7 separate regions of the Homo sapiens genome follow, and all the other regions are linked to region 4. The links are contacts of gene promoters, found by promoter capture Hi-C in blood cells and fetal thymus (Javierre and others, 2016). All regions are on one chromosome and are shown on one strand. The core of a region is centred on a gene start or on the middle of the fragment in contact, and the rest is flanking DNA. Distances in the headings are between cores, read along the strand shown.

Region 1 (2,700 bases), core at 190-2,689, 320 kb before region 4:
GGGCAGAAGGGCCCTGGGTATGGGGCTCAGGTCTTGGGACTTGCCTCTCAGTGGTGGAGAGGTCTGGGTGGGTCATAAGCCAGGAGTAACATCCTGGAGGTGTTGGAAAGACCACTCTGAGGGCGGCGAGGGGCTGACCAAGCTAGGAGGCAGGGAGACAGTGCAGGCCACCACCAGTCCAGGCAAAGCATGACAAAGGCCTAGGAGCGAGGACAGAGGGATGGAGGAGAGGGGACATTTCCGAGGCAGGACACATGGGCTCTGCACAATCTGTCTCGCCTAATAATCTGTGATCATCCATCCCAGCTCCTAGGCCTTGTCCCTTGAGGACATCTCTGGGTCCCCAAAAGGGCTTAGGACCCAGAAGCGCTTCAGCTGATGTCTGCTGCCATGGGTAGGGCACACCTGACTCCCACCCCACCCCGCCCCACCCACCCGGGCCCACCAGCACCTCACCTGTCCCACCATGGTCTTGGCGAGGATCTCAGCCCTGCGCGGCCCACTCAGCATGTCTGCCGCCTTCAGGAAGATCTGGGCCCGGTCTGCAATAGGCTTCAGGTCCCACTCTTTCCGGGCAGCCAGGGCAGCCTCAATGGCTTTGTTGAGCAGGCTCTAAAGGGAGAGGGAGAGGTTGGGGACTGCCACCTGCAGCGGGAAAGGCCCTGGGGAGTGAGCGAGGGAGGAGAGACCTGGGAGGCCACTCTCTTCCATCCGGGGACAATGCCTGTCTCCCTGGGCCCTCAGCCCCCTGCCACCATAGCTGCCAACAACAGCGTCCCATCAGAGCCTGTAGTGGCTGCCAGTCTGAAGCCTGAAGGGCCCGGCCAGGTTGGTCAGCTCTCCGAGGCCTTGGCACTGAGTCCCGCAGCTGTTACACTGGCTCCACTTTCTCTCATGGTCTAATCAAAACCTTACCTTATTCTTGGGACCTGGTGCCCCTTAACCCACCATCCAGAAACTTGAGGTCAACTGGAGCCTGAGACACGGCTCTGCTGCTGGCCTCCCAGACCCCAACTGCCCTCATCGCCACACAATGCCAGTTCCTGGACCCCCAGCCACCCCAGCCCCTCCTGCTGGCCCTTTCCAGTGCCAATTCTTGGCCTAGCTTTCCATCAATGGTGTCTCCAATTGCCCTGACTCAGCCTTCCAGAATCCACCTCCTCCCCAGTCCAAGGTCTGCCCCACCACAATGGGCATGTCTGGGAATGTCTCAGCCCTGGCTGAGGCAGCTTGTGTTTGGCTCAAGTTAACCTTTGTATGCCTGGCCCAGTCAAAGACATCACCCAGGGACTCCCTCAGTGTCAGCCACCCCCTGCCCACCTACCCACCATGGCCAAAGAAGGACACAGCAACTGATGCCCCCTGCCCCCGCCATATCAGCAGCTGGCAGGGCAGAGCAGGGGCAGCAACCCTAACCCCGGGTCACCAGGCACACAGGCTCACTCACCTTGTCTGCATAACAGAACTTGGCCACCTTATGTCCATGGTTAAAAGGCTGAAAGGAGAGAAGAGTGAGGTCCTTGCCCGGGAGGGAGGTGCCAGGATAAGGATGAAGAGGACTGGACTCAGAGCCGGTTTTCCAGGAAAGTCCTGGACACGCCTGCTGTCCCCCCTCCCCCGCTCCCATGAAACCCTCCCCAGTGCCCGGCCCACAGGTTGCTCCCTGTTAAGGGTGCTGGTGTACCCGCTATACCATGAGTAAGACATGGCTCCTTCTCCAGAAGGCTCAGAGTCCAGGAGAAAGGCATAGACCCCAGGGTCTTTCCAGGAAAGCACGGACCTTTGTGGTCAGAGAGACATGGGTTCGAATCCTGGCTCTGCCACCTACTAGCTGTGGGGCCCCAGGTAAGCTCACTTCCTTCCCTAAGTCTCTTCATCTAGGAAATGGGGACTGCCCTCCCTGTCTCTTAGCATGGACAGGAGAACCAAAGGGGATCATGGATGAAAATTCTTTGGTCCAGTATGAGGCTGCGACTATGGGCAACAAAACCAGGTGAGGCCCAAAAGAATGCACCGGTGTTGTGACATGCTTGGGACTTCCGCCCTGCCCCGAAGCCATCATGGACAGAGCAATTGTTTCCTAAGCCCCAGATTTACTAATCTAAATAGGAAGATCCTCAACAAACATTTATAAACACAACCTGGTGTTGGTCCAAACCGCACCATTTTGTCAGCTCCCCGCTATTTTGCAGACCTCGGGCCAAGTGAAACATTTCACAGGAGCTCAGGCCATGAGAACCATCCGGCTCAGCCGCCTGACCGCAAGGCGGACGAAGGCCCACCTAAAGAAACTTCCCTGTTGGCCGGGCGCGGTGGCTCACACCTGTGATCCCAGCACTTTGGGAGGCCAAGGCGGGCGGATCACAAGGTCAGGAGATCGAGACCATCCTGGCTAACATGGTGAAACCCTCTCTCTACTAAAAATACAAAAAATTAGCTGGGCGTGGTGGCGGATGCCTGTAATCCCAGCTACTGGGGAGGCTGAGGCAGGAGAATGGCATGAACCTGGGAGGCGGAGCTTGCAGTGAGCCGAGATCGCACCACTGCACTCCAGCCTGGGCGACAGAGCGAGACTCCGTCTCAGAAAAAAAAAAACCATCCCTATCATATCTTGCTGGGTAAAGGTACAAGGAACACCACGATGACATCCCACCGGAGAGGGCCAAACCACCTGATCATAACAACATCTTATCAATATCC
Region 2 (2,728 bases), core at 12-2,511, 370 kb after region 4:
CCACAATCCCCTGAAATGACCTGAGCAGCATATTCAAGTCAGCGCAGGGGTGAGATTTAAAGTTGCCACAAGAGACCCAGAACTGTGGCTCATGCCTGTAATCCCAGCACTTTGGGAGGCCGAGTCAGGAGGATCACCTGAGGCCAGGAGTTCAAGACCAGCCTGGTCAACATGGCAAAACCCCATCTCTACTAAAAATACAAAAAATAAAAAAAAATAGTCGGGCGTGGTAGCGCGCGCATGTAGCCCCAGCTACTCGGGAAACTGAGGCAGGAGAATTGCTTGAACCCGGGAGGCAGAGATTGCAGTGAGCCGAGATTGCACCACTGCACTCCAGTCTGGGTGACAGAGTGAGATTTCATTTCAAAAAAATAAAAAAATAAAGTTGCCACAACATCCCCAGTTTGTCTCTGGAATCCTCCCAGACTACCTCGTTTTTCCACTCTGCTACTCCTTGTTCATAAATTTCTTGGTTCTCAGCTGACTTTGTTTTGGCTTTACATTACGGTTTCTATCCTCCACCCATGTCTTTGCTGGATGATCTGCTGGGCTTGACTCATTCTTCTGGCTCTCAACAACCATATGGATCCACGCCACTGCCTTTGGTCTTTGTTCTTCAATCCCCCACATTGCTCCCAAAGGGAAGAAGCAGTTCATCTGTGGGATCCACTTGATGTGTCTCACCTTTCACCAGGACCACGAGGGGCGTGGGGGCCTGCCAGCTTCAAGATGGCACAATAAAGGCATTTCTGCTACCATCTTTTAAAATCACTCCAAAATAAGCAGTACAATAAATTTAAAAATATGTATATTATTTAGGAAACCAGGAGACAACAGCAGCCCCTAATCATACTAATTGAACCAGAGAGGGAAAGGGCAACACACACCAGGTGGTTCTGATAATGGTGGGTGTTAGGGTATTTAGACTAGACCTTGAAGATAGAGAGTTCTTCAGTGTTTCTTTATTCCCAGAGCTTAGCATAGAACCTGGCCAAATCAAGTCCTCATCAAATACTTGTTGAGTGAATTACATCATTATATATATTTATATCCTATAACAGTTATCAGCACATGAAAACATTTTACTATAAGGAGAACTGTTAGAAATGTTTGCTACATTGCTAAGCGGGGCTTCCGTTCTTTCTCTTGGAGAGAGGACCCTTCTACATCCATAGGCTGAGGAAGAGAACTCTGACTAATACCTTTGCCCTGATGATTAGCATTTCATTGCTTCAATTTTTAAAACATTCACAAAATCTGCTCTTTCATTGGCTCTGTTTCAGTCGTTCATTATTTTAATGTGAACTTGGCTCTTATGGAGGTCAGGACTTGATAATTGCATTCAGCCCTTTGCAATTATTGGTAAGAAACCAGGTAAGAAACCACTGACATTTAATATTTAATTGTTTTTGATCAGCATTAATTAGTCACAGATGCACACCAGATTCCCATTTAATTAAATACTCTTGGGAACATATTTTGGGCTCAGGGATTCTAACCACATCAAAAAATAAGTGTTCAACTTTAAAAGTTGGGCCCCAGAGACCCAGGCATCCATGGAGAGGAAATTCCAGATGTCTAGCATTCTCCCTTTTCTTAGAAATAAACCTTCTACTTCTAGCCCTCTGGAATAGAAAGTCTCGGCATTTCTTTTCTCTTTTATTTTATTTATTTATTTTTTGAGATGGAGTCTCACTCTGTCGCCCAGGCTGGAGTGCAGTGGCACGATCTCGGCTCACTGCAACCTCCACCTCCCAGGTTCAAGCCATTCTCCTTCCTCAGCCTCCCAAGTAGCTGGGACTACAAGCATGCACCACCATGCCCGGCTAATTTTTGTATTTTTAGTAGAGATGGGGTTTCACCATGTTGGCCAGGCTGGTCTCAAACTCTTGACCTCATGATCCACCCACCTTGGCCTCCCAAAGTGCTGGGATTACAGGCGTGAGCCACCAGGCCCGGCCTCTTTTATCCTTTTTTTGTTTGTTTGTTTGTTTTTTTGAGACAGAGTCTTCCTCTATCGCCCAGGCTGGAGTGCAGTGGTGCGATCTCAGCTCACTGCAGCCTCTGCCTTCTGGGTTCAAGTGATTCTCCTGCCTCAGCCTCCCAAGTAGCTGGGATTACAGGCACTTGCCACCACGCTCAGCTCATTTTTGTATTATTAGTAGAGACGGGGTGTCACCATGTTGGCCAGGCTGGTCTCGAACTCCTGACCTCAAGTGATCCACCCACCTCGGCCTCCCAAGGTGCTGGGATTACAGGCATGAGCCACAGTGCCTGGCCCTCCTCTCTCTTCTTGCATCATCAGTTTTACCCTCTTTACTGAATCATTCCCATCCACATACAAACATGAGCAAGTTCTCCCATTCTAAAAAAACCCACTGTCAAACCCACCCCTTCTCAAACTATTGCCCTTTTTCGTCCCTCTTTGGAAATAAACTTCTAGAAAAGATTGTGTGCACTTGCTGCCTCCAGCCCCTCTCCTCCTAGTCTCTCTCAAACACACTGCATTTGGACTTTGGCTCCAACTACTCCATGGAGACCGTCCTTGTCAATGTCTCTAAAATTACCTTTCTGATGTTAAGACCAATGGCCACTTCTCCACCCTCTTTCATTTGGCCCAGTTAATCATGTTGTCTTTCTTGAAACACTTCATTTGGCTTCCAGGAGACCATTTTTTCTTGGTTTTCCTCCCGTCCATGTTCCTTCCTTCTCATTTTTCTTTGCTGAT
Region 3 (2,855 bases), core at 300-2,799, 390 kb after region 4:
AACCTCACCTCTATAAAAAAGGAAAAGCAAAGAAAAATTTAAAGAATAGGAAAAATAGGGCTGGGCATGATGGCTCAAGCCTGTAATCCCAGCACTTTGGGAGGCTGAGGTGGGTGGTTCACCTGAGGTCAGGAGTTCAAGACCAGCTTGGCCAACATGGTGAAACCCCATCTCTACTAAAAATACAAAAATTAGCTGGGGGTGGTGGCACGTGCTTGTAATCCCAACTACTCAGGTGGCTGAGACAGGAGAATCTCTTGAACCTGGGAGGCAGAGGTTGCAGTGAGCCAAGATCATGCCACTGCACTCCAGCCTGGGTGACAGAGCAAGACTCTGTCTCAAAAAAAAAAAAAAAAAGAAAGAATAATTTAAAAAAATAGAGAACTAGGAGAAGGGAAGGGTGGTCATAGAAGTTATCTTGAAGGAAGAGGCTGTCGTAGCAAGATCTGATACAACAGAGTTTTGCTGTCATAGTTGCAAATAAATAGTTGAACGATGCCTGTAATCCCAGCACTTTGGGAGGCCAAGGTGGGTGGATCACTTGAGGCCAGGAGTCAAGACCAGCCTGGCCAATATGGCGAAACCCCATCTCTACTAAAAAAATACAAAAAGTTAGCCAGGCGTGGTGGTGGGCGCCTGTAATCCCAGCTATTTTGGAGGCTGAGGCAGAAGAATTGCTCAAACCCAGTAGGCAGAGGTTGCAGTGAGCCGAGATCGTGCCACTGCACTCCAGCCTGGGCAACAGAGCGCGACTCTCTCTCAATAAATAAATAAACAAATAAATAGGTGAATAAATTCAATTCAGTTCAACAAATATTTCATAGAAGACCCTACTATCCAAGGCATTGTGCTCTGACTGGAAGTATGAAGACGAAGGGGCAACTTCTAGTTCTACTAGCAGATAATATCTACAACCAGATGTTTCAGTACTAGATAGAGAAATCAATGCGGGTAGGCAGGGTAGTGGGACAATGAGAAGGGGAAGGCAGCTCTAAGCTCTATCTGACTAGGCTTCCTAGAATCAGTGCAGTGTTGAAGCTTGGATAGATCCAGTGTATGAATGGGAGTCATTGACAGCTTTTTTTTTTTTTCTTTTGTGATAGGGTATCACTCTGATGCCCAGGCTGGAGTGCAGTGGCATGAACATGGCTCAGTGTAGCCTCCACTTCCCAGGCTCAAGTGATCCTCCTACCTCAGCCTCCTAAGTAGCTGGGACTAAAGGCACACATCACATTAGCCTGGCTAATTTTTTAAATTTTTTGTAGAGACAGGAGTCTCACTATGCTGCCTAGGCTGGTCTTGAACTACTGGCCTCAAACAATCCTCCCGCCTCAGCCTCCCAGAGTGTTGGGATTACAGGTGTGAGCCACTGCTCTCGGCCTTCATTGACAGCTTCTAATCAGAGGCATAACGTGGTCAGATTTCTATTTGTTGGTAGGATGGAAGACTAAAATCAATGACACTAGCCAGTAGGCTGGATATACAATCTCTCTTGATAGCTGTGGGCATTTGGTTTCAGGATCTCGCAGTTACCAAAATGCAGGATGCTCAAGTCCCATATATAAAATGGCGTGGTATTTGCATACAACCTACACACATGCTTACATATCCTTTTTTAAAATTACTTATTTTTTTTTAAAGAGATGAAGTCGAACTCCTAGTCTCAAGCAATCCTCCCATCTCAGCCTCCCAAGTAGCTGGGACTACGGTCGCATGCCACTGCGCTGGCTCCCATATACTTTAAATCATCTCTAGGTTACTTATAATACCTAATACAATGTAAATCCTAGGTAAATAGTTGTACTGTATTTTAAATTTTGCATTATTTTTTATTTGATTCAAAAATGTTTCTGGTCCATGGTTGGTTAAATCCATGGATGCAAAACCCACAGATACAGAGGGCACCCTGTGTATGTATGTGTATGTGTGTGTGTGTGTGGGTGGGTGTGTAAATATATACATGGATAGGAGGCCTGAGGTAGACGTTTTACCTGGAGATATAATTTGGCAGTGTTTGCAATTACTCAGGGAGAGTCTGTACAGTGAAAAGAGAATTGATGGAAGCTTGCGAACCAACAGTCCTTAAACAGCTGGCAGAGAAAAGGCAGCCCTGGAGGAAACCAACAGACAACAGCAGATGGGGAGAAGAGGAAAGAGTGGCGTTACCGGGAGTGAAACGAATAGAGGAGCCAGGGAGGATCAGAGGGAGGGAAAATTGTGTGGAATGCGGTACAGAGGTCAGAAAAGAGTCCATTTGATTTGGCGGTAGGTAATCTTTCCCAGAGCAGTTTCGGTGTTAGTGGTTCAGGCGGGAATTCCAATGCAAGAAACCAGTGAACGAATGAGAGAGTGAGTAGGGAAAGTGAAGGTGAGTACGTTAATGAATGAATAAATCAAGTCTGTACCCTCTCTTGCCCGGGGGATTTCCAGGGCCAATGTCGCACTTTGGTGAGGAGGAAAGGCCTGGTCACGGCTTGGGGTGACGCCTAGGAAACTGTCAGCCTCGCAAACCCATAGGCGCAGCCCCAAGGTCAGGGTCACCTCGAGCCTCCAGACAACTCGTCACCTTGACGACCAACTGAAAAAACCGGAAGGGATGGAAGCAGCGGATCATCTCGCGATATCTGGAGCGTCTGCGCCTGCCTTCCTGACCTGGGACTTGTTTCCAGCTCTCGCGAGACTTTCAGGGGTCGGAGCGCGGGGGCCGGCCGAGAGGAAAGCTGGAGGCGCGGGTGGGGAACATGTCTGAGTCGGAGCTCGGCAGGAAGTGGGACCGGTGTCTGGCGGATGCGGTCGTGAAGATAGGTAAGGGGCTTTTCGCCCCAGCAGGCCCGGCCGGTGCAGAGCTGCTGGCT
Region 4 (2,878 bases), core at 301-2,800:
AGAATACAGGATTTATGGAAGGGTGTCAACAAATTATTAATATTTTATAACCTATCCAGCTCATGTCCAGAAAAACATAAAAGCAAATGCTCTAAAAAGACTGGAACGTTACTGATTCTACGTAACATGAGTATGAGTCAGGAAAAATACTGCCAATCCAAATGTTTAAAACAAAAAGCAGCCACGTAATTTGAAAGTAGTATATTTGAAACCTGTTTACATCTTCAGAACATTCCTGGCCTGATGATTAGATAGCAAAATCCGTCTGTAAAGCTGACTGTGAAGTTACCAAACTCAACCATTATTTTATTATAATTTGTTAAAAACTCTGCATCCAAAGGATTACAAGTCTACAACAAGAAAAAGCACAAAAACAATTTGTCAAACCGTGGGCCTCCTTTGAGTAACAAATAGCAATTTTTAACCTCTGGATAGCAGCTAGATATACCCTTGTCATCGTGAAGCTAAAATGACCCAGTTAACAATTGCAGGGAGTTGCTGAAATGAGGTATGGCTAGAAAAATGAAAGTCAGTCTGGCTTTAAAAGCAAAAGTCTACCATTAAACTAATGAAAGACTGCTCTGAGCACAGTATGTCAGGAAAAGGCAGGCACTCTGAGATCACCATCTTTGTACCTACATAACTGTCACTAGCTAAGAATCGCTGTGCAAAAAGACAAAAACACACAAAAGGAAACCAACAGATAGTACCGTTTGTAAAAGAATGTGATGATATTTTAATGCGAGGGGGATGGGAGGCAGCAAGAGAACACACACACCACACATCCTCTGGGAAAATGATCTCTCAGACACACACTGAAATGTTTTTAATCAAAGACCGATACAGTAGGAATGCACAAGGAGTGCAACGTAAAAAGAGGTCATCAATGTAGCTAGTGGCTTCAGTCACAGAAATAGCACGTGCCCCCACTGATTACAGCACCGCGGGGAGACCGTTATTAAATTATACCGTACGGCTCCGCTCCGGCCCAGGCTAGGAGGATGAGTGCGGGCGAGAAATGCAAACTCATCTGTGACTTGACCCAAGGGGCAGCCCCGTGAACATTCCCTTAAGAGGGCGAATGCATCTCACTCTCAACCATGTCCGGCCACGCCCTCCCGCAGGGAGGCCGCTAAAGTTTTGCTCGAGAGGGGAAACTGAGGTAGAGGTGATTTACATGCGTTGGCGGAGGGAAACCCAGGCAAGCCAGTCTCCCCGGGCCCGGGACCCCGAAGCCGTGGCTGTGGCGGGGATCCTCAAGGGGGCAGGGGGCGGCCCGGAAAGCGGGTCCAGACGATCCGGCTCGAAATCCCCTCCCCCCACAACAGCGTCGCCCGCCAGAGCCGCCGCCCGGTACCTCTCGATGACTGAGGCCACCAGCTGCGGCAACTCCTTCATCTCGAAGGCGGAGTAGGACGCGGACAGCAGGGGCCGCACAGCCACCTCCCAGCCCGGGGTCGTGTCCGCCCCCGTTGCCGGGGTCCCCGGCGCCGGAGCCGCTGCCGCCGCCTCTTCGCCGCCGCTCGTCGCCATCTTCCGTCGTACTACTGCGGCTCCCTCCGGGGGCTTGCCACCGGCCCAGCGCCGCCTCCCAGGAGGGGGCGGAAGTGACGCAATCTGTCGCGTCAGACTGCGCGCCGCCGTCATGGGTCAAAAACGCGACGCGCGGAGCGGCCTTTGCTCTCACCGGGGTCGAGCCGCGGCGAGGGAACGGATCGGAGACGCTGCGCCTGCTCAGAAGGTAGCGCAGCGGGGAAAGGCGGGAGAGCGTTAACTTCTGAGCCTGCGCGGTGGGAGTTGCTCAAGCAGGTGGTAGCGACTTGGCTTCCGGGCAGCGGGTAAAGGTGAGTCTGGGGCATGGGTTCAGTGGGCAAGTCTAGGGCAGCAGAGTTGACTACGCCTCGGCGTATAGAATGGCCCTGGCCTGGGACAGCTAAGGACGACAAGAGGAGGCCGAAGCCTAAAACGCTTTCACCTGCTTCTTCCCCTGCCTAGATCCCCCCAATAGTAATACTAAAGAGCGCCATAGTTTACAAAGATTTCTCCCTCTCACAACACCTTTTAATCACTGATCCGTATTCCCTTAGCACTCAAATCTCTTCTGTTTGGATTGCCCTCATTAACAATCTGACCAGCTCGTACAATGCATCCCTCTTTGCAATTTGCCACGTATGCTTACGTGTTCCCCTTTTTTCTACTGGCAAGGAAAGAATGTAAGCTTTTATTCACAGGAGATGTCTGAGACTTTTGCCGGTAAAATGATCTGGCTACAAGGTCTAAGAGGGAAAAGCAGTTTGCTCGAGGAAAGGTATTCGTGCATTAAGGACAGTCCTGTGAGTGAGATATTGGTGGACGGCTTCAAGCTCTAGCCTGTGGCCTACAGCTGGCCTAAATAAGACTGGGAAGGAACTGTGAAGACGGTTTCAAATTCCTAAAGCCCTGAAATTCTCCCCCTAAGTTTAGGAAGAGCTTTTGTTCTTGGTGTGTAACACTGATAAATGAATTGGTACCTAGTGATTAATCTGCACTTTTATTAAGATATGACCTACTTTACCTTTTTTGAGACAGGATCTTGCTCTGTCGCCCAATAGCCCAGGCTGGAGTGCAGTGGCAGAGTTGCAGCTGGCTGCAGCCTCCACCTCCCTGGCTCAAGTGATCTTCCAGCCTCAGCCTCCCCAGTAGCTGAGACTATACAGGTGCAGGCCACCACTCTTAATTTTTTTTGTTTGTTTTTAAGAGACAGGTCTCCCTACGTAGCCCAAGCTGTTTTCGAAGTCCTAGGTTCCTCCCACCTTGGACTCCCAAAGTGCTGGGATTACAGGCTTGACCCACTGCGCCCAGCCTGCATCTTTACATTCGAAATAAAATTCAGTCAAGT
Region 5 (2,700 bases), core at 125-2,624, 310 kb before region 4:
TCAGGGACCCAATCTATTCCTAAAGTAATGTTACGTTTCCTTACTCTCTGTTCTAATTTGTTTATATTTCTTCCAGCAGCATGAACCGCGCACCTGCTTAGGAGTCAGTTCCCATGCTGATTTTGGTTCCTCAAGCAGGGCACTAGGCAGACTACATATCCTTTCCGGGCCTCAGTTTCCTCATCTGTAAAACGGAAGTAATAGTACCCAACTCACAAAGCCCCCGTGATCTTAAGCCACTTATTTTTCTCCAGATTACACCATTTGAGGTACTTTGGGAGAATGTAAACATTTAAATGAAGAGTAGGAGAGGGAGATTACCTAAATGCCAAGTATTAGGAATGGCAAAAAGCAAATTGGAATTGGTGGCGGCTATTTGTCTTCACCTTTGGAGAAAACCCTAGACAGGTGGGCTCAGTTCACATTTGGGCAATGTTGCCCTGAACATGCCCATTGACAAGAAAAACTAGAACATTGGTTACTGTCAAATCCAGAGCCTGGGAAGGTGACCTCCTGTGGGCACGTTGGAGAGCCTGGAAAAATGGGGGCTTTGTGGTTAAAAGGACATCAGTTCCAAACCAGGCCAAGCCAGTTACTGAGCCTGTGATGTCTCATGTCCTCTCTTCCCCTTCAGTAAAATGTGTGTAATGATTCCTGCTTTGTCATCTTCCAAAGCTTTTATTGTGAGCTACAAATGTAACAGGTGATATGAAATCCCCTATTTTATGGCTAATTAACTAATGAGTTTGAGGGTTTCTGTGGCCTTCCGTCCTCCTACCCCTCCCCCAACACCAGATTCATCTTCTGTTTAAAAACAAAAACAAAAAAAAGCACCATCAGTTCTAAGACATTTCACTTTATTTAAAAGAAGCCAATATACAGGATATAAAGGGCATGATATTTACAACAGTACAGTAAACAGGTTGGTTTCCGGTAGGATCAGTAGTCTTTCCATGAGTATAAATCCCCCCCTTCCCTGTGATGCTAGACCCAGCTGGCAGACAACAGCAACGGTGGGGCAGGATCATGGGGTATAAAGTCTCCCTGGGTGGGGCTAAAAATCAGGTAGATGCAAAAACATCCACAAGGGGTCTTGCAGGGAAGGGCTTTGCCTCATTTCTTTGAGGGCTTGGGAGGGAAGGGTCTTGGTGAGGGATTTGCTCAGAACTAACACACAGCCCACCCTGAGCCTGGAAATCATCCATTCATAGAAAATTCCCTTCCAGAGAGAATCTGGCTTTACCTGCACCCACCCAGTCCCCTCCAGACTCCCCACTCCAGGAGAGAGCTCTTCTAGAGCCAGAGCTTGGTGTCTCAAGGGGGAAGACCCCTGTCCTAGGAAACCCCCAGCACCCTGATCCCTCCCCCCAGGGCCCTGGGGGGAACATAGCAAGGACTGCAGCCCAGGCTTGGCCTGGAGTAGACACAGCCGGGGCTGGGCTATGAGCATCTTAAGCCATTTCCACTTCTGCTCCAGCTGCCTGACCACCTGGGACCCGCAAAGGCCCAGGCTCCAAGGAAGTCGTGTGCTCCCACTGTCACCCATGCTCTGCTGCCTCCCAACCCTCTCCCAACGCAACTGGGTTGGAAATGGATCTCGGCAGACCAGAGTCAGAGTAACTAATTAATCAGAGCCTATCCCCAGAGCCCAGCTTGTTCCCTCCCTAATGCGCCTTGTCCCTTCCCCCACCCACCACATTTCTGAATTTCCTGCAGCCCACCCACCCCCTCAGATCCCCACCCCAAGACTTCCAAGGAGCTGAGGGGTCAGAGGAGAGGAGAATGGGGTGAAGTGGGACCTACACTCTGCTGAAGCTGCTCATGGGTGTGGATGACCAAAAGTGAGGACAGAAGACGAGGCCGGGGGACAGGAATGGGTTCCATTCAATCCAGCAACAACATGCACCATGTCTCGTCCACAGGAAAATGCTGGGCTACCACAACTGCCTACCCTAGATTAAAAAACCCTTCCTTTCATAAAAATAGATGAGAGTCTCTTGCTTTATAAATAGATTACATTTAGCTTAAGTTACATCTTATATTCTCCCCCACCCCACCCCCTCTCCTCCCACTCCAAGCTTAAGTGGTTTAATTCTCCCTAGGTCATCTGAGCTCTACCCACAGAGTTAGTCCACGATGGATTTGGCCCTTCAGGGACCTCAAGACATTTTCTCAAGACGAGAAAGAAAAATGTGTTGATTTGCCAATAATTTTTTTCTCTGTTCGGAGTCTCAGAGGAGTGCGAGTGTGTGTGTGTGTGTGTGTGTGTGTGTGTGTATTTCACAACCAACCAGGGAGCCAAAAGGATGCTAGTCTTCCTATCCCTCCCCAATCCTCTGTTTGTATAAAACCCCCAAAAACAGGAGACAGAGGGCAGCGCAGGAGAGCCCATCTGAGAAAATTCTAAAATACCAGTGTCAATATGACACTGGGCTTAGAAATAGAAAGTCAAAATTAAGTATTTACAGCTTTACAAAGGATGGACCAATTCGTCCCAGCTAGGACTGGTGCTGCCCCAGCGAGCGTTGGGGTCTTTCTTGGCAAGCTGTGGGCTCATGGTGAGGGGACAAGCAGGGCCCACTGACATTAACTGAAAAAAGCATGTGGTGGAGAGGCAGGCAGGCAGGCAGGCAGGCCGGACCCAGGAACCAGCCCAGGAGGCAGGCCCATCACACTCTGGCTTTCCCTCTCCTACCCACC
Region 6 (2,801 bases), core at 185-2,684, 500 kb after region 4:
AACAGACTACACTTCTTGATGGGAGGGGTTTCAAGGTCACATTGTAAAGTATGTGGATACAGGCAGGGGTGGGAATTATGGCCGTTTTTTGCCATCAGTCTACCACAGATGTACACAATATGTCTGAAACACTGCAACATACTGATGGCTCATGTGTAGTGGGCAACAGGTTAAATCCATTAAGACACTAGTTCAGGATGAATCTTTCTCCAAATTCTCACCCAGGAAGAAGGGGAAGGGGTGGGGGAAACACTGGGAATGATGGCAGGCTGTTGGCAAGTGGCTGGCTTTTGGGGATGTGGTTTTGGGAGTCCTGGGCTAAGGCAGGATCCACATAAAGAACTGGAGGAGTGAGCCCAGGTAGAATCCTTTAGGCAAGATCCAGGTGGGCATGGTGGTGTGCACCTGTGGTCCCAGCTACTCAGGAGGTTGAGGCAGGAGGATGGCTTGAGCCCAGGAGTTCAAGGCTGTAGTGAGCTATGGTTGTACCACTGCACTCCAGCCTGGATGACAGAGTAAGACCCTGTCTCTAAAAATATATCAACAACAACAACAACAACAACAAAAACAAAAAAAACATGCTCCTTGAAGCGCAGAGATTCATTCTGGAAAATTCTCAGCCAATAAATTATCTCTCTCCCCTATTCTCTTTTTCTTGGGGATTTCTATAAGCAAATGTCAAACTTTAATTTAATTCCTATTTTCCATCTCTTTATCTCTCCATGATGCATTGTGGTTAATTTCTTCAAATCAATCTTCCAGTTCATTATTATTATTATTATTTTTGAGACAGAGTCTCTCTCTGTCACCCAGACTGGAGTGCAGTGGTGTGATCTCAGCTCACTGCAACTTCTACCTCCCAGGTTCAAGTGACTCTTGTGCCTCAGCCTCCCAAGTAGTTGGGATTACAGGCATACACCACCACATCTAACTAATTTTTATATTTTTAGTAGAAACGGGTTTTCACCATGTTGGCCAGCGTGGTCTCAAACTCCTGGCCTCAACTGATCCACCCACCTTGGCCTCCCAAAGTGCTGGGATTACAGGTGTGAGCCACCACACCCAGCCAGTTCATTATTTTTCTCTTTAGTTTTGTCTAAACCACTTTAATTTATCCAGTATTCATTGTAATGACTCTATTTTTTTATTTCTACAAGTTACATTTGATTTATTTTCAGATCTCCGTATTCTTTTTTTCAATGTCTTGTTCCTTCCACTTATTTTCAAAGTTTAAATTTATGTCTTTAAAAACTGTAACATACTTAGCGGGTGGGGAGGGCTTCTTCAGACCATTCTGCTGGGCACTAACGGTCTAATTCTGATTGTGTTGTTTCTGCAACCTTTCTTCATGGTGGTTTTATAAGACTGGATTGAAAACTCATCTTTACAGCTACTCATACATGGGAATCTGTGTAGCCTAGATTGAGAACCTATTTTCTCCAGAGCAGTTTTCTCTTTTAAAAAATCATTTAGGCTGGGTGCAGTGGCTCACGCCTGTAATCCCACCACTTTGGGTGGCTGAGGCGAGCGGGTCACCTGAGGCCAGGAGTTCGGGACCAGCCTGACCAACATGGTGAAACCCCGTCTCTATTAAAAATACAAAAATTAGCTGGGCGTGGTGGTGGGCACCTGTAATTCCAGTTACTCAGGAAGCTGAGGGAGGAGAATCGCTTGAACCCAGGAGGTGGAGGTTGCAGTAAGCCCAGATCGCGCCACTGCACTCCAGCCTGGGTGACAAGAGTGAAACTTCATCTCAAAATAAATAAATAAATAAATAAAAAATAAAAAGTATGGCCAGGTGCAGTGGCTCATGCATGTAACCCCAGCACTTTTGGAGGCCGAGGTGGCAGGATCACTTGAGCCAGGAGCATGAGACCAGCCTGGGCAATGTAGGAAGTCCCCACCTCTACAAAAAGAATTTGAAAATTAGCCAGGCACACCTACAGTTCCAGCTACTTGGGGGTGCTGAGGTGGGATCACTTCAGCCCGGAGGGGGTCGAGGCTGCGGAGGGTGGTGTTCGTGTCACTGTACTCCATCCTGGGTGACAGAATGAGACTGTCTCAAAACAAATTATTTATTTATTCATGTTAGAGACAGGGTCTCACTGTATATAACCCAGGCTGTAGTACAGTGGCACAATCATAGCTCACTGCAGCCTTGAACTCCTGGGCTCAAGTGATCCTTCCACCTCAGCCTCCCAAGTTGCTGGGATTACAGGCACAGGTTACCAGTCATGGCTAATTAAAAACAATTGTTTTTAGAGACTGGTTTTCATTGGGAAGGTTCTGTGAGATGATGTCTAGAATCACCTGTCACAGCGAGTATCTGATAAATATTAGTTCCTTCCACTCTTTGTATATTTGGTGCCTAATAAATGCTTATCAAGTCAAATGAAAACAAGACGGATATAACTGACGACATGAAAATTTCTCAGGATATAGGAGCAGCTGCCAAGTTCTGCACGAGCCCTCAAGGAAAGGCAGTCGGTAACTCTCCCCAGCAAGCACCCTCTGGACACGCCCCCTGGGCTGGGATTGGAGGAGGGATGGCTGCAGAAATGGCTGTGAAGTGGCCTTTTCCTCTATGAAAGTGTGCACACCAGAGAGCTGCCACCAGGTGGTGCTGTGGTGACCATGTAAGCCCCGGGCATCTCCCTGGCAGAACCCTACCCCAAGAGCTTCCTACAATGCCATTCCCATTAGAGACGGAGGGAGCGCCCTGGGAGTGGGGTCTGATCACATCCTAGAAAGCCTGCCCCTCCCTGGAGTCCCTGAGATGGAGCCATGAGTATGGGACTCTG
Region 7 (2,738 bases), core at 150-2,649, 410 kb after region 4:
CATCTTCCAGCTGCAAGGAGTGAGGCAAGTCGCCTTAAAATTGAACCCTGTACCATTTTATAAACCAAGCAACAGCAGAGTCTTGCCAAGGAATATCAGTATCAATGGCTTCCATGTCCCTGAGGTTCTTGAATCACACCTACCAGGTCAACTTCTTGTGTCTGTGACTTGTGCGGTAGGATTGGTCTGGGAATGAATCTAACAGGCCCTTTTGGCTTTGTGAAGACTTGTTACTACCCAGGTTGTCTAGCATTCTGAGCTGTATGGGGAGCACAGTCATATTTTGGCTGTATTTCACTGGCAGTAGAAATCTTGACATTCCAATTTCCCTTGAGGGGTAGTAATTGTTTAGGGGTTGAAACTGGAGAGGAATCCAACATCTGGACATGGCAGGTACAGTAGCATTGGAGTCTGGCAGACTTGAGCCCAGATGACTGTTCCGCAACTAACTAAACAATATCCTTGGGCAAGTCATTTTCTTCATCTGGGGCTCTGGAGGGCCGTCTTTTTCCTCTGCCTAGATATTCTGGCTTGTGTGATAGCTCAGCCTTTAGGAATTGTTCTGGATTACTGCTTTTTATCTTCCTCAAAAAGTAGCCATCACTCCAAGTGCTGAGGTGACAAGGGGAGCGTCCTGTTGGCACTATCTCATGTTTTGGCTGTGGTATCCCTCTTTGAGGTGGGTAGGAGAGCCCAGGATGCTGGAGGCTCCTTGCCAGCAGTGTAGAGAGGGTCCACTCTAGAACAGTCTCCTGGCTTGTTCCCCTGCCCCACACCCCGCAACTTGTCTAGAGAGAACAGGGAGTCAAGTTTTTATTTCATGTTGGGCAGGAGAACCAAAGGCATCTGTAAAACCTCTGACAAATAAAGACGGTTAGAAATTAGAAAATTAATTCTCTACCAAATTATGAAAAAAAATCTGTTTAATGATGTTCACATTTAAGAAATGTTAATGTTATCTTTGTGAAGTTACTGCTATGAGATTTAGCATGTTTTTTCTCCCTCTTTGTAGGTACTGGTTTTGGATTAGGAATTGTTTTCTCACTTACCTTCTTTAAAAGTAAGTGTCACTCTGTCTTTTCAACATAATGTCATAGTGTATACATATACGTAGCAGGGACACTTCCAGAGGACACATTGGAACCCATCAATTTGTGGGTTGCCAACCCATCCATTTATGGGGTTAGGTAGCCCATTATAAAATGAATTAGATAAAGAATGTGGACTTGAAAGAGGTCAAAATGGGTTGGGCATCTCCAGCATTCCCCTGGGCACTGAGGCAGGGTGCCTGTTATCCTAAATATGATATCATTGCAAAAGCCTGTACTTGATGCCAGTGAGTCATTTGGCCAAGTCTACACGCTCAGATATTTCTAATTAATTGTGATTTTTTCTAGAGGAATTGAAAATGAGAATCCTGCTGGTAATAGAAACAAGTAGACCAGAAATACACATACTTCTTGGTCAAAAATTATCCTAAGCAAAGGGCAGGCAATATTCTTTTCATTCTGTGGAAGAACTTCTGAAGTTTGGATACCGAATAGATGCCAGAGGGATCCTTTTGACCTCTTTCCGTGAAGAACCAGTGGGAAATACTTGACTAGAGAATCATAATTAACACATAGTGCTGATATGAAAGAATCACTTACAGAGTGGCTTAAATAAACCCCATGACTTACTACTACAATCAAAGCATGTAAATATCGGTAAAATGCTTACATCTTTTTAGAATTCATGCATCTTACTGGCTAAGATATTAGTTAAACTGAGCAGATGATTAGAACTGATATAGAGAAGTTAAAAGGTTTATCTAGTGTTTTCATATTTTACTACTTTTTTTTTTTTTTTTTTTTGAAACGGAGTCTTGCTCTGTCGCCAGGCTGGAGTGCAGTGGTGCGATCTCAGCTCACTGCAACCTCCGCCTCCCTGGTTCAAGCGATTCCCCTGCCTCAGCCTCCCAAGTAGCTGGGATTACAGGCACACGCCACCATGCCTGGCTAATTTTTTTGTATTTTAGTAGAGACAGGGTTTCACCATGTTGGCTAAGATGGTCTCGATCTCCTGACCTCGTGATCCGCCCGCCTACGCCTCCCAGAGTGCGGGGATTACAGTTGTGAGCCACCGCGCCTGGCCTTTACTACTTATTTTCCTCAAACTTATCAGCATAGGCACTTAACAAGTATTTGCTAAATTAATAACTTCACTAATTTACACCTCTTTTTTGGGGCCATTGTGAAACATTGATAAAAATGTATGGTTATTATAGTCATTAGTATGATGCACGTTGAATATTTATTGAACCCTAAGTAAATGTATTTAAGAGGATGGGGAGCTTTATCTTCTCTTAATAATTCCCTATTGGGATTTTCCCTTTTTTGCTCACTAGGAAGAATGTGGCCATTAGCCTTCGGTTCTGGCATGGGATTAGGAATGGCTTATTCCAACTGTCAGCATGATTTCCAGGCTCCATATCTTCTACATGGAAAATATGTCAAAGTATGTACAGAATATATATTTCTCTTTCCTTCAGAAGAAAAAGATTTCTCCTGAGCCCTGAAGAATTCTTTAGACTGTTTGTAATGAGTAAACCATGTGTGTCATTGTGGCACCACTCTCAGATACTAATTGCTCTTTGGCCTTCAGTGATGTCATCACTGCTTTGGTGCTAAAGTCTCCCCTGTGCCTTCAGATGCGTATGTACGTTCAGATATATACTCATGTGCTAGCCGATTGGAATT

What was found. Contacts are between HindIII fragments. The CHiCAGO score rates a contact against its expected background, and 5 or more counts as called.
Region 1: a contact is called between a fragment that was not itself captured here and the fragment with the promoter of UBR4 in region 4, in 8 of 17 cell types (fetal thymus, megakaryocytes, naive CD8 T cells and 5 more). The highest score is 9.8, in fetal thymus.
Region 2: a fragment that was not itself captured here is called in contact with the fragment with the promoter of UBR4 in region 4 in 4 of 17 cell types (neutrophils, naive CD8 T cells, total B cells and 1 more); the score reaches 7.8 in neutrophils.
Region 3: a contact is called between a fragment that was not itself captured here and the fragment with the promoter of UBR4 in region 4, in 16 of 17 cell types (fetal thymus, total B cells, total CD8 T cells and 13 more). The highest score is 27.5, in fetal thymus.
Region 5: a fragment that was not itself captured here is called in contact with the fragment with the promoter of UBR4 in region 4 in 17 of 17 cell types (fetal thymus, megakaryocytes, erythroblasts and 14 more); the score reaches 26.7 in fetal thymus.
Region 6: a contact is called between a fragment that was not itself captured here and the fragment with the promoter of UBR4 in region 4, in 3 of 17 cell types (total CD4 T cells, naive CD8 T cells and non-activated CD4 T cells). The highest score is 6.0, in total CD4 T cells.
Region 7: a fragment that was not itself captured here is called in contact with the fragment with the promoter of UBR4 in region 4 in 13 of 17 cell types (activated CD4 T cells, neutrophils, naive CD8 T cells and 10 more); the score reaches 8.9 in activated CD4 T cells.

What each region holds. Positions count from the first base shown.
Region 1 is chr1:18,885,017-18,887,716 of GRCh38, forward strand. ALDH4A1 (aldehyde dehydrogenase 4 family member A1) reads right to left here. Exons shown (of 15, transcript NM_003748.4): 4 at 1,448-1,495; 5 at 457-612. Among named protein-coding and RNA genes, the nearest start is that of MIR4695, 3.1 kb to the left of the region's middle. The HindIII fragment of the contact is 3,570 bases long and covers 1-2,700 here.
Region 2 is chr1:19,576,666-19,579,393 of GRCh38, forward strand. No RefSeq gene overlaps it. Among named protein-coding and RNA genes, the nearest start is that of MICOS10-DT, 19 kb to the right of the region's middle. The HindIII fragment of the contact is 3,214 bases long and covers 1-2,728 here.
Region 3 is chr1:19,594,305-19,597,159 of GRCh38, forward strand. MICOS10-NBL1 (MICOS10-NBL1 readthrough) reads left to right here and starts at 2,675. Exons shown (of 4, transcript NM_001204089.2): 1 at 2,675-2,805. It overlaps MICOS10 (mitochondrial contact site and cristae organizing system subunit 10), which reads left to right and starts at 2,675. Exons shown (of 4, transcript NM_001032363.4): 1 at 2,675-2,805. The coding sequence starts at 2,742. MICOS10-DT (MICOS10 divergent transcript) reads right to left here and starts at 2,528. Exons shown (of 2, transcript NR_135054.1): 1 at 2,406-2,528. RefSeq lists an enhancer at 2,468-2,767. The HindIII fragment of the contact is 1,026 bases long and covers 1,037-2,062 here.
Region 4 is chr1:19,208,716-19,211,593 of GRCh38, forward strand. UBR4 (ubiquitin protein ligase E3 component n-recognin 4) reads right to left here and starts at 1,551. Exons shown (of 106, transcript NM_020765.3): 1 at 1,358-1,551. The coding sequence starts at 1,533. It overlaps EMC1-AS1 (EMC1 antisense RNA 1), which reads left to right and starts at 1,671. Exons shown (of 2, transcript NR_135114.1): 1 at 1,671-1,844. RefSeq lists silencers at 1,221-1,540, 2,566-2,635 and enhancers at 1,591-1,640, 1,891-1,940. The HindIII fragment of the contact is 5,774 bases long and covers 1-2,216 here.
Region 5 is chr1:18,903,444-18,906,143 of GRCh38, forward strand. IFFO2 (intermediate filament family orphan 2) reads right to left here. Exons shown (of 9, transcript NM_001136265.2): 9 at 837-2,700. Among named protein-coding and RNA genes, the nearest start is that of ALDH4A1, 2.2 kb to the left of the region's middle. RefSeq lists an enhancer at 1-165. The HindIII fragment of the contact is 1,403 bases long and covers 674-2,076 here.
Region 6 is chr1:19,713,169-19,715,969 of GRCh38, forward strand. All of the region lies in intron 13 of TMCO4 (transmembrane and coiled-coil domains 4), which reads right to left. Among named protein-coding and RNA genes, the nearest start is that of HTR6, 50 kb to the left of the region's middle. The HindIII fragment of the contact is 6,575 bases long and covers 1-2,801 here.
Region 7 is chr1:19,621,088-19,623,825 of GRCh38, forward strand. The region is part of intron 1 of MICOS10-NBL1 (MICOS10-NBL1 readthrough); the gene reads left to right. It overlaps MICOS10 (mitochondrial contact site and cristae organizing system subunit 10), which reads left to right. Exons shown (of 4, transcript NM_001032363.4): 2 at 1,013-1,060; 3 at 2,387-2,496. Among named protein-coding and RNA genes, the nearest start is that of NBL1, 22 kb to the right of the region's middle. The HindIII fragment of the contact is 6,275 bases long and covers 1-2,738 here.